2 separate regions of the Homo sapiens genome follow, and region 1 is linked to region 2. Evidence: promoter capture Hi-C in human tissues and cell types (Jung and others, 2019). All regions are on one chromosome and are shown on one strand. The core of a region is centred on a gene start or on the middle of the fragment in contact, and the rest is flanking DNA. Distances in the headings are between cores, read along the strand shown. Region 1 has its middle 13 kb from the start of MIR8070. Region 2 holds the start of ZBED5 (zinc finger BED-type containing 5).

What was found. Contacts are between HindIII fragments. The study calls those that stand out against the background at their distance.
Region 1: a fragment that was not itself captured here is called in contact with the fragment with the promoter of ZBED5 in region 2 in 2 of the 25 tissues and cell types used here (dorsolateral prefrontal cortex and mesenchymal stem cells).

Annotation. Positions count from the first base shown.
Region 1 is chr11:11,768,581-11,772,102 of GRCh38, reverse strand. No RefSeq gene overlaps it. Among named protein-coding and RNA genes, the nearest start is that of MIR8070, 13 kb to the left of the region's middle. The HindIII fragment of the contact is 5,196 bases long and covers 1-3,522 here.
Region 2 is chr11:10,856,723-10,860,497 of GRCh38, reverse strand. ZBED5 (zinc finger BED-type containing 5) reads left to right here and starts at 2,445. Exons shown (of 3, transcript NM_001143667.2): 1 at 2,445-2,636. ZBED5-AS1 (ZBED5 antisense RNA 1) reads right to left here and starts at 2,281. Exons shown (of 3, transcript NR_034137.1): 1 at 2,132-2,281. RefSeq lists enhancers at 973-1,608, 2,010-2,099, 1,609-2,246, 2,400-2,779. The HindIII fragment of the contact is 25,171 bases long and covers 1-3,775 here.

The sequences.
Region 1 (3,522 bases), core at 487-2,986, 910 kb before region 2:
CCTCATGGTCCTGACAATATATGTCTCATATATCTGACAAGGTGTATCTCAGCTCAAATGTTGGTCTTTCTCGGAAAGTTTTCTTCCACTGTCCCAAATAAGCAGGAGTCCTTCTGCTGCTCCAGTAGCTCTGTCACATCTCTCTGATTCACTGGAATCATATTTATCTCAAATTGAAGTTACTGGAATGACTCCATTTCTATGAAGTGCCCAGAAAAGGCAAATTTATAGAGACTGAAAGTAGATTAGTGGTGGCCTGGGCTTGGGGGTGGGAACAGGGATTAACTGTAAATGGACCTGAGGGATTTTACCAGGGGGATGAAAATGTTCTAAAACTTATCTATAGTGATTGTTGTACCACTCAGTAAATTTACTAGAAGTCATTGAATTGTACACTGAAAATGAGTGAATTTTATGATATGTGAAACTTACCTTACTAAAGCTGTTAAAAAAAGAAATTACCCTGTTCATTTTCCTCTTTATTACTGTCTTACATTCTGGTTAGAATGTAAGCCTATGATGGCAGGGATCTTGTCTGTTTTATTCACCAATATGTCCCCAGCACCTAGAACAGCACCTGGCACATAAAAAGAGCTCAGCAAGTATTCAGAGAATGCATGAATAAATAAGCTAGCAATCTCTTGCCATTTTGTAAACACTCAGGATAAGCCTGTGAAAAGAGACATACTCAATACAGAATCAATAACAAACTTCAAATCTAAAAATCACACATTAAGGATAAAAGAAATCACGAACCCTCCATTCTCAATGGGTGCCAGATTGTTTGCTGTTGACTCAGCATTTTCTCTACCTCCTTCTACATCATCTTCATCATTACATCATCATTATAGAGAAATCTGCAATTACATTACCCAGAATTCCTTTACTGGATGGTTCCCTGTTAGATTCTGTAAACTCTTGTGAAAGTTGAAGCAGAAGCCATTATTCTCTGACAGCAATTGTGGGCAGATGGGAAGCGGGAGAAAGGAGAGGCTTGCAGAGCTGTCGGGTTAGTTCCTATGAATCATCTGCTTCAATGCTACAGGTAGCTGAGATTGTAGCTTTCCTGCAATATCTGAAGTTTGCAGCACCTCTGGCCCTAATCTTTGCTACCCAAGTCTTTCCAATGGTTATGGTTGTATAAGTGTGTAATTCCTTATATTAAAATCTTTCCTGTTTGGAAAACCTGGAGGGGGTCTGGTCTCTTTTTCTGATTAAACTCTAACTAATTCAATGGGTATAGAGTATAATTTTTAAGAACTCAGGGTTGAATGATGGTGAGGAGAAGGAAGGGAAGAGCTTCTTTGTGTCCTTTTCTAGGCTTCAGTTGGCCTTAGGAGGAACATTCTTAATCTCTGGACACCATGGATCTTGAGGAAATGAGACTCTTTTCCTATTCCCATCAGACTTCTGTCATCTCTTTCTCTTACTCCCTGTGCCATGGTCATTGTGAGTGGTTTCTTTCCTTTATTTTGTCTTCACCATCTTCCAGAAGCCCCCAGTGTACCTTTTCCCAGAGCACTGATTTATGGAACTTGGGCACCTTTCCTGCTTTTTCATTCTTGATAAAATCACCCAGTTGCCTGGTTACATCAAGGGAGTAGAGCTGACACTGGGCAAAATTCTCCAAAACAAGACACATCTAGCTTACTCACCAACCTTCCCAAACCTTCTGCCAGACAGTTATGGAGCCAAGAACTTGGATTTGCTGCCTAGAAAAAGACACTGTATAACCTGCTACTTTCCTTCAAATCATACCAAAGAAACGAATTTAGGCTAAGATCATCTTTAAATAATTATTCTGTCAGACTACACTGTCTTGGTTCAATTGGAGCCTGAACGACTGTGTTTCTGAACCTTCTGTAGAAACAGGCTGGGCAAAATCTGTAGGCTCTTTGCTACCTGTTTTGGCCTCACTCAGCTCCTCTTATCTGCAGATTTGGGACCTCATAAAGCCTCCAGCCATTCCTGATCAGGACATAGCTTACAACAGCAGCCTGGTGCCCATAACCTGGACAGCCTGGAGTGAAGTCACACTCCCAGACTTGATGTTCTAATGACAAGAATGAACTCTGACTATTTGAGTGCCCCACAGTCCTGGGACTTCCTGACTCAGGATGAGACTTTGCCAAACTGGGCATTTGCTACCATCTCTGCCCTGTGGTGGCCTGCTGATTATGTCTTGCATTATACTTTCTCTCTCTATGAATGGGTTCTAACTTGAACTCTATCTCTGTGGTTGGGACTTACACTCAGGTCAGTTTCTTTCTTCCATGCTGGGATGGTGGTGGGGAAGTGCTGAAATCTACTACCTGAACTCAGTCCTCTCAAGTTACTGGTTGAGGTCCTGCTAAGAATGAATGCATCACTTGAATTGGCATCACCTGCCTGTATGTATATACATCTCTCCAAATACCTGAGCTCTTCCCTTTTCAGTACTCCATCATCACCTGTCTTCTGTCTCCCACCCACTGCACCCTACCAGTAGCCTTGCCTTGCCTAAATCAGTGCAGAACAAACTGTACCTGTCAGACTTTGTGTCTTGAGCCATCCAGTTGTCTTTGCTGGAACCAGCCTCTTCAGCTGAGCTAGTTGAAATTCAATAAGCATTCATGGATCTTCTGTTATGTGCTAGGGGACAGAGAGCCAAGTATGCCTCAGTTCCTACTTCTAGGAGTCCACAGCATTGCCTAGAAAAATGTCCCTCTGCTGGCTGGTGCACATCACTCATGGCCCACTGTGTATCACATCTAAGTCCGTATTCCAGCGTGGCAGAATTTCTCACAGCTGGAGGCAAGACTGAATGCAATGTAGGATGAAATCTTCTTGTTAGTTCAGGCAGAAGCAACACTGGGGTTGAAATTCTCCAAGTAATATTTCCATTTGTCTGGGGGAAATCGATGGAGCTTTTCTGCTTACAAAGGTGGAGGGAGTTGGTCAGATCACTGGATAGTCATAGTCTGATAGAAATATGCAATAATGTTAATATAAGATTTATTCTATGTGTGCCGATAACTTAGGGACGGCCTTGAAGGCTGTGAATTTTTGATGGTTTGTTGCTTTAGGCAAAACCAGTGCGTAACCTAACAGTGATGACAATGATAATGATAAAGTTGGAAAGAAAGTTAAGAAAAAAAAAGGGCATTCATTGTGCTTCTGACACGTTCCAGTCCTTGTGGAAATGGAATCATCCAATACTAGGAGTATTTCCCATCTACAAATCTCAAAGACCCTGGGCATGGATAGGATGGTATTTCTTGTAAGGGATATTAGAAAGATTTTTAAAACCACCTCCAGCTTAAATTTTTCCTCTTACTTGGAAAAGCTATAAGCTTTTCATGCTATAAGCTGCCTTTCTTTACAGAACTATTAAATTATCCTTCAGATACAGTTAAATTTTATGGCCAAAATGTAGAAGATAAATTGGGAGGTAAACACATTACTGTATTCATTAAAACATGCACTCCATAAAACTGATTCTACTCTTCAAAAACATTTATTCCATCAGCACTGGGAATGGCT
Region 2 (3,775 bases), core at 1,196-3,695:
GTCCCATCAACATTCTGTAATAATTTGACAAAACGATTACAAAAAAAGTTAAGTTTCATGAACTTTAATTATGAGACACTTCAGATTTGGGGCCCTATATTAATCCATTCTCACACTGCTATAAAGAAATACCGAGACTGGGTAATTTATAAAGGAAAGAGGTTTAATTGACTCAGCTGCACATGCCTGGGCGGCCTCACAAAATTTTCCAATCATGGAGGAAGGGGAAGCAGGCACGTCTTACAGGGCAGGTCTTACATGACGGCAGGTGAGAGAGAGCATGTGAGACCACAGGAAAAACTACCATTTATAAAACCATCAGATCGTGTGAGAATTCACTTAACTATCAGAACAGCATGGGAGAAAACGTCCTCATAATCCAATCACTTTAATCCTTCCATACGTGGGGATTAAAATTCGATATAAGATTTGGGTAGGGACACAGAGTCAAATCATATCAGGACCTAATTCCTAAACTTTAGATGTACTTATTTAAACACTATTCTGCCTAACAGTTTAATATTTTGGGTTTTCCCTCTTCATGAAGATGTAAACAAGATGTGTAAAGATTGGTTTGGGAGCCCATGGCAAGGACAGGAAAATCAAACACATGTTCTCACTCATAGGTGGGAATAGAACAATGAGAACACCTGGACACAGGGTGGGGAACATCACACACCAGGGCCTGTCGTGGGGTGGGGGGAGGGGGGAGGGATAGCCCTAGGAGATATACCTAATGTAAATGACGAGTTAACGAGTGCAGCACACCAACATGGCACATGTATACATATGTAACAAACCTGCAAGTTGTGCACCCTAGAACTTAAAGTATAATAATAAAAAAAATAAAAAATAAAAAAAGATTGGTTTGGGAGCACATATGTAAAAGGTTTTTCTAAAATATGAAACACGAAAATATATTATTCCAATATTATTCTGAAGCCAGACAACTCCCGCAATGACAAAATCCCTTGCTCTTCAAGCGCGACTGTACCCCCTTCCCAAAAACGATTTATGCATTTATGGTTAAAGTTCAAATGAAGCTGATTTAATAGAAATAATTTAAAAATAATAATGAGAATATATGGACAGCTTACTATAGGGTGAGATGATGTTGTAATTGACTTTAAAACATTTGGAACTAAATGTCAGTCCTAGGAAATTATGCACTCCTGTAAATTGTGCTATTAAGGGTTAGGTTTCTTTCAACACTTTAGATATTTGATCAGAAGCATATTTAAGAAAAACGAAAGCTGCCCTTGCTTTTGACCCCAAGTTGAGAATTTTCTATCATTGGTGCAGTGCCTGAAAATACGATCCAATCTTCATTTAGTCATTTGTACGGAGTCTGGAAAGGCTAAAACATTGCAAATAATAGGACCTACTCGTACTTTCCCCGCTTAAGAAGCGTATCTATTTCAAGGTGCCTATTTGGAAAAACAGACTCCAGGTCTCCACCACAGAACTTAACACAAAATGAAAGCACACAACCCGCAGCCTTTGGCTGTGGTGTTTTTGAAAACAAGGAAGGGCACAGAACCATGGCTTAAAATACCCGAAAGCTGCAGCCCACAAAAAGAGTATTTCAGGGCGGGTTGGCCGTTCCCTGCAGGCAAACGTTCGGTGCAGGCGGCCGGGCGTTCCTGCGGGGAGGGCGCCACTGTGATGCAAAGACATCAAGCGGACTTTCAGCTTGCCCGTGGACGCTGCGGTGCCGCTTTCCCTATCCAGTCCTGTTCCCGCGGCTCCCCAGCCTACCCCGGGCCGACCAAGAGGTCCGGCGGGGTCTGCGCCGCATCAGCGCCCGCTCGTCAGGCCTAGCCCTCCGCACAGCCAAGGCCGACCAGACCTCTAGACACTCCGTCGTCGGGTGTGGGGCGGAGAAGTAAAGGGCGAGTTTTCTTCCTAGATTCCAGTGGGAACCAAGAAAAGGAGTTGGCAGCTGTGTAAACTGGACCTGGGGTGCGGCCTCCGGGAACAAAAGAGGTGATAAATGCACAGCAGCCGAGGTTCTGCGTGCTCCTTTGGGGCCACTACGAATCCCCGTGAATCACCCCAGCCCGGGCAGAGGGCCAGAAATGATGAAAATGCAGATTCATGGCTTCCACTCCAGCCCTACAAGATCACCAACCGTATCTGGCAGTACCCAGGAATCTGCATTCTCGACAAGCGTCCGCGCCGACGGGGCTAGTGAAGTTTGAGAACAATTGCTTCCTACCCAGCCGCTCCGCTATCACCTAGGTAGCACGGCCGCTGCGGCTGAGGCTGTGACTGCGGCTGCGGCTGGGCCGCGCCTCAACCGAGCTTGGTCCTTTCCTTTGGTCCCGCCCCGCTGCTCAGCGCGGATTGGTGGCGGGACGCAAATCTGGCGCTGATTGGGCGGCGGCAGAGTCGCTCGTGAAGATTGTAGGGTTCGGGTGCTCTAGAGTGCTAAATTTATCTTCAGACCGGCGACCGCGCCAGCCGCGAATCGGATCTCTATGGAGATGGCCTAGGCGATATCCCTGAGCTGAGAGCATCACCCTGTCCCCGAATCCTTCTTTCCTCTCTGTTTTGTTTTTCATTCCCCTCCCTCTCTCCCCTCCCCCTCCAGTCCACGACGACTGGCTGTTGACCCTGTTCAGGCCTCGGTGAAGGTGAGAAGCAGAGCCGCCGCCGCGGCTAAGCGGTGCGCTCTGAAATGGCCGCTTCCTGGAACTGCCTAAGATGGCGGTCGCGGGCTCTGCTGTGGACCGCGGCGCTGCTGTGCAGCCCAGCCGCGGCAAAATCCGTTCTCTCCATCGCTGATGGAGATGAAATAGAGAGATGGTGTTGGGTGCTGAGACGTTTTCATGTGGTCGTTAGCGCAGGCGGCCGCCCGGGGACGCGAGAGAAGACCTGAGGCGAGGGTGGGCTGCGACTGGTAGGGAGCCCCCCAGTCGTGGCAATCTGTGGGCAGCGCGCACCTGTGACAGGGAGGAGCTGAGGGATAGTTGGCCCTGGCTGCACATCCAGGTGACCGTTTAAAAAAGCATTTAGGTGTTGGAAGGAGCATCTGTTCCCACCTTTTTGGCTGGCCTGCACTCAGATCCTGTCCTCCTGACCCTGAGGGTATTGTTCCCAGCCGGAACCGCCCGAAGATAGGGGAGAAAGGATTGTGATACTTGTCAGTTTAACCGGAAGGAGACTAAAGACGGAAGTTTTCCCCGCTCTTCAGGGAGTGGAAAGGAAACTTTACTCTCAAAGGAGTCCAGATTCTTTGTCCTCGAGAAATTCGGGGAAACACCTTCGAAGAGGTGGGGTTGAGGACCTTCTTTCTGAAAACAAAAGCTTCCTACTCTTCTGTGTCCTCTGGCAACGAGAGGGATCCTGATCTTTTACGTGAACCAGCAGCTCCACAGAGTTCTCCGTTGCAAAATCCAAAAGGAGACTGTGGAAGGAGAATCTGCTTTTTTGCTCCCAATAAGAAGCAGGGCTTTATGCTGTTGCTAGTATGAGACCCTCGACTTTCTGGCAGTTATAATCCATTGTTCATCCGTTTCGCTGCATAACCCAACTCCTAGTAACGAGATTTTTTAGTAGTTGGGGAATTAAAAGTATTCAGGAACACCCAAGTAATGGCTAGACACATGGGCTATGCAGTCAAACTTTTTGGGCTCTGAACTTGGTTTTTCACTTACAAGAGGTGTTAGCGAGATGTGTTAACCTGTGTCTGTTTATCTCTAAAGTGGGGTTATTAATAATCCTTGTGTCTTCATAGATGAGATAATCTATATGAGGGATTTAGCAGTAATTG